Regions from separate parts of the Homo sapiens genome. Here region 1 is linked to region 2. Evidence: promoter capture Hi-C in human tissues and cell types (Jung and others, 2019). All regions are on one chromosome and are shown on one strand. Each heading gives the region's core, a stretch centred on a gene start or on the middle of the fragment in contact. The rest is flanking DNA. Distances are from core to core; before and after follow the strand shown.

Region 1 (2,700 bases), core at 68-2,567, 260 kb after region 2:
GGAGACAAGGTTTCACCATGTTACCCATGGCTGGTCCCGAACTCCTGGATCCAAGCAACCTACCTGCCTTGGCCTCCCAAAGTGCTGGGATTACAGGTGTGAGCCACCACACCTGACCAGTATTTCTAATAATATGAGGATAGCTACAGTTGTTTGTCTGACCTGTTTCATCAGGATCTATCTAATTAGCTGACTGAGGGAATAAAGCTCTGAGTACTTTAATCTCAATAACTATGTTCTTTGGTTAGCTCCATGGCCAAGAATCTGATATTCTCTCCCTTGCAATCTGTTGATTTAGATTCAGTAGCCCTATTTTCAGCAGAAGCCTGACAATGTTTTCTGTGAATTGTTTATTTTTTACAATTTCAACTTTTATTTTGGACACAGGGGGTACATGTGCAGGTTTGTTACAGGGTATATAGTGTGATGCTGAAGCTTGGGATACAAATGATCCCATCACCCAAATAGTGAGCATAGTACCCAATAATTTTTCAACTCCTACCCCTCTTTCTCTTTCCCCATCTCTATTAGTCCCTAGTATCTATTGCTCACACCTTTATGTTCATAAGTACCTAATGTTTAGCTCCCGCTTATAAGTGAGAACATGCAGTATTTGGTTTTCTGTTTCTGCATTAATTTGCTTAGAATAATGGCCTCCAGCTGCATCCATCTTGTTGAAAAGGACGTGATTTCATTGTTTATTATGGCTGCATCATAGTCCATGGTGTATATATGCCATATTTAAAAAAATCTAATCCACTGTTGATGGACACCTAGGTTGATTCCATGTCTTTGCTATTATGAATAGCACTGTGATGAACCTACAAGTGCATATGTCTTTTTGGTAGAATGATTTATTTTCTTTTGGATATATACCCAGTAATGGGATTACGGGGTTGAATGGTAGTTCTGTTTTAAGTTCTTTGATAAATCTCCAAACTGCTTTCCACAGCAGCTAAACTAATTTACATTCCCACCAACAATGTATAAGTGTTCCTTTTCTCCACAGCCTCACCAGCACCTGTTGTTTCTTGACTTCTTAATAATAACCATTCTGGCCAGGTGTGGTGGCTCACGCTTGTAATCCGAGCACTTTGGGTGGCTGAGGCGGGCTTGAGCTCAGCAGTTTGAGACCAGCCTAGGGCAACATTGAGAAACCTTGTCTCTACAAAAAATACAATAATTAGCCAGGTGTGATGGCACGTGCTGCTCCCAGCTACTGGGAGGCTGAGGTGGGGAGGATTGCTTGAGCCCAGGAAGTTGAGGCTGCAGTAAGCCATGATCACGCCACAGCACTCCAGCATAGGTGACAGGGCGAGACCCTGTTTCAAAAAAATATAATAATAATGATAGCCATTCTGATTGGTGTGAGATGGTTTTGATTTGCATTTCTCTGATGATTAGTAATGTTGAGCATTTTAATATATTCGTTGGCCACTTGTGTGTCTTCTCTTAAGAAGTGTCTGTTCATGCTTTTTGCAAACTTTTTAATGGCGTTGTTTTTTACTTGTCCGATTAAGTTCTTTATAGACTCTGTGAATTTGGGGTGGCAACCTAGAACTGTGTGTTTGCAGTATGAAAGATACTGAAATATATCTGTAGACGAATCATATCTATTATAGTCATCATTTCATCCATAGTACCTGGGCAAAGGGCTTGTCATAGAAGACATTCAATAAATATTGAATTGGTTGACTGAGTCACTGAATTATTTTAGAATAGTAAAATATCTTTAGAGAAAGACTCAGTTAATTTTGATGATTGTTTTAATTGTTAGATTATATTTTCAAGACTTTCCTCCTTAGTTTCTCATTAGAGGTCCTGTTCTGAAACTGATTGTTGGTGGTGGAAACTTGTCCACTTGTCCATTAGCTTTCTTATGATGGGTAAGTTATTTAATCCTTGATGCCTCAGTTTTCTTATTTAGAAAATGGGCATAATAATAGGGTTAGAGTGTGAGGAAATGGGTTAATGTAAGAAAAGTGCTTAGAGCAACATCCAACAAAATGTTCAATAAATCTTAGCATTGTTATTAGCACTACTGTTATTACTACTACAGTGACTGCTGCTTATCAAGATTCCCTCAATACTGTGGGTTCAATTTATTTGTACCTTTCTCCAAACTAAAGTTCATTTTTTATTTTTTACTTTTTTTTTTTTTTGAGAGAGGGTCTCACTCTGTTGCCCAGGCTGGAGTGCAGTGGTGCAATCATGGCTCACTGTAGCCTCAACCTCGCAGGCTCATGCAATCCTCCCACCTCAGCCTCCTCAGTAACTGGGACTGCAGGTGCACACCACCACACCCAGCTAATCTTTGTACTTTTTGTAGAGACAGGGTTTTGCCATGTTGTCTAGGCTGGACTCAAACTCCAGGGCTCAAGCAATATACCCACCTTGGCCTCTCTTAGTGCTTGGATTACAGGTGTGAGCCACTGCATCTGACCTAAAGTTCAGTTAAAACATCTTTATTTTATATTTATTTATTTATTTATTTATTTATTTATTTTGAGATGGAGTCTGTCTCTGTTGCCAAGGCTGGAGTGCATGGCGCGATCTCGGCTCACTGCAACCTCTGCCTCCTGAGTTCAAGTGATCCTCCTGCCTCCGACTCCCAAGTAGCTGAGATTACAGGCATGCGCCACTACGCCCAGCTAATTTTTTTGTATTTTTAGTAGAAACAGGGTTTCACCATGTTGGTCA
Region 2 (2,700 bases), core at 123-2,622:
GGCTATTTGGAAGCTCCAATGAAGGGGTCTGCAGGGGGTAAGGCAGTGAGGGGAAGAGACTGACCATGGGCTCGCTGTCCACACTGGCCCCTATATCGGTGTTTGGAAATCTCCAGAGCAGGAGCCTCAGGTGAGAGGAGTAGTACAGGAGGGCTGAAAACTCAGCCCAGGCTCCTTCCTCTTTGGATGGAAGGGGAGATAACTTGGGACCCCTTCCCTTGCTGACTGGGGATCCTTTCCCAGGCCTCTGCTCTGGTCACACCTCAGGAAAGTGGCCTTAACCCTTTCTCCTATTTAGCTCCCTCATCAGGGCAAATTTAGGGGCCTGGGTGGTTATTCAGTGGAGAAAAGGAGAAATGGCTTCCCTCACCCCCACCCCCCACGTCACCACCACCATCTTAAATCCATCCTTCTGGCCAGAGTCAGAGAAAGGCCCAATAAATGTAAAGGCGCTCTGGTTCCTTGTATTAAACTCTTTCCTAGGCTCACGTTTCCGGGACCTGATGGATCCCTTTAACCTCAAGTAGTTTCTAATTTCAGGACAGATAGTGGATTCTTGGACACTCAGTCGTTTTATTCACCTCTCTCCTCCTCCCTCAGCTACTGAGGGGCCCAGGGAAGCTCGCAGTCATGTAAATCTCTACAAAGAGTGCAAGGAGAGCCCCCTCCAAAGCGGACAACGTCCTAAAATCCCCAACTTTTCCCCTCATCATTTTACTTCATCTCCTGTGGATTGCTGCTGCTGTTGTTGTTTAATAAACATCTTTTGTCAAGGGGAAAGAGAAGAGGAAATGAGGGCCTGCGGGGTGGAGGTGTGTGTGGGGGGACAGGAGCACCTCCTCTTCCAGTATCCTCTCGGGCCTCTATGGCTTCTCCCCGGGCTGGGGCTCTCTCCCTCCCTCCGCCCTTGCTCTCCCTCCCTCCCCGACCCGCCTGGGGAGAGGGCTCTACAGCCTGCGTCCCTCCCAAGGCAGCCCGCCGCTTCCCTCCGCCTCTCCTCCGCCCCCGCCGCCCCATGTTGAGAACTGCCCCCCTTCCTGCAGCGGGAGGGGGGGACCGGGCGGCCGGTAGCTGGGGCTGAGGTTACGTGGCCGCCGGAGCCCTGACGTGATAGCACATTGCATCAGCATAAAACAATCCATCCTCGATATGGAGTGCGGTGCGGACGGATGACAGCGAGAGCGCAGCCCCCTCGCCCGATTGATTTATGTCGGAGCTGACGCTTTATCAGGCAGTCGGAAAAACTTTGACCAATCATTTTGCAAGGAGAGCTGAGACGGGCTGCTCCACTGTACTTTGTTGGCTGAGAAGTTGAGCAGGGGGTGGGGGTGGGAGGGTGGGGGGCTGGGGGGGTCGCGTCCGAAAGCCCTCACACCGGTCCGGGTGCCACCTCTCCCTGCTTGGGCGCCGCCGCGCGAGCGCTTCCCTTCCCCCTGCAAGCGCCCGGATAATGTCTGAGAATGTCCATTTCTGGGACGCTTAGCAGCTATTATGTCGACTCGATCATAAGTCACGAGAGTGAGGACGCGCCTCCAGCCAAGTTTCCTTCTGGCCAGTACGCGAGCTCGCGGCAGCCGGGCCACGCGGAGCACCTGGAGTTCCCCTCGTGCAGCTTCCAGCCCAAAGCGCCGGTGTTCGGCGCCTCCTGGGCGCCGCTGAGCCCGCACGCGTCCGGGAGCCTGCCGTCCGTCTACCACCCTTACATCCAGCCCCAGGGCGTCCCGCCGGCCGAGAGCAGGTACCTCCGCACCTGGCTGGAGCCGGCGCCGCGCGGCGAAGCGGCCCCGGGGCAGGGCCAGGCGGCGGTGAAGGCGGAGCCGCTGCTGGGCGCGCCTGGGGAGCTGCTCAAACAGGGCACGCCCGAGTACAGTTTGGAAACTTCGGCGGGCAGGGAGGCCGTGCTGTCTAATCAAAGACCCGGCTACGGGGACAATAAAATTTGCGAAGGAAGCGAGGACAAAGAGAGGCCGGATCAAAGTAAGTTATAAAAAGTGAGGAAATACCCAGGCCGAAGGCCAGGAGGGGGGCGGGGAGGGGAAAGGCAATAAACTGCGGACAATGTGAAGGGAAACTGCGGCGGTGGCCGGAGAGCGGGCCGGGAGGAGGAGGGGAGAGGAAGGAAAGACGGAGGGAAGGGGAAAGCTGCGTGCTCTAGAAGGGGAGACTGAGGCCGCCAGAGGAGCGCTGCCCCCACTTCTCCAAGTCCTGCGGGGAACAGGGGCTCGGGGATCGACTTGCAGCTCTCTCGGCCCTCTTTCCCCCTCTCTCCCGGAGGCCCCAGCTGAAAGCCCGGCCAGAGACCGGCGACGGCCGGGAGAGGAGCTGGCGGGGGCCGGGGCCAGCGGCCAGCGAGGCCGAGAGCCGGCGAGGGCAAGGGCCGGAGCGCACTGGGCTGCCCGGGGCCGTGCGGCTGGCAGAGCTCCCCGCGCCACGCGCAGACCGTAAAAGCCGGCCAAGGGGAAGGGGGAGGGAGCTCATTAGGATTTTATTTGCGATGCAACAGCTTGGCGGAGGATTGTTCCTAGCAGATCTCGCGCTGTAGCCGCGCAGAGTCCGCAACCGGCGACAGGAGGGGCGGGGGAAGCCCAGGACGCGGTGACTGAGCCCCCTCCCCGGATGCGCCGGCCCCTCCCCGGGAGCCTTCCCTCCGGTGGCCCCTCTCCTCCTCGGCGTCCTCGCAGGGGCTACCGCTTCCTTTTC

Evidence for each region. Contacts are between HindIII fragments. The study calls those that stand out against the background at their distance.
Region 1: a fragment that was not itself captured here is called in contact with the fragment with the promoter of HOXB9 in region 2 in 2 of the 25 tissues and cell types used here (IMR-90 fibroblasts and heart left ventricle).

What each region holds. Positions count from the first base shown.
Region 1 is chr17:48,368,953-48,371,652 of GRCh38, reverse strand. All of the region lies in intron 2 of SKAP1 (src kinase associated phosphoprotein 1), which reads left to right. Among named protein-coding and RNA genes, the nearest start is that of SKAP1, 60 kb to the left of the region's middle. The HindIII fragment of the contact is 6,067 bases long and covers 1-2,700 here.
Region 2 is chr17:48,625,030-48,627,729 of GRCh38, reverse strand. It overlaps HOXB9 (homeobox B9), which reads left to right and starts at 1,372. Exons shown (of 2, transcript NM_024017.5): 1 at 1,372-1,977. The coding sequence starts at 1,461. RefSeq lists a silencer at 276-431 and an enhancer at 1,842-2,519. The HindIII fragment of the contact is 6,922 bases long and covers 1-2,700 here.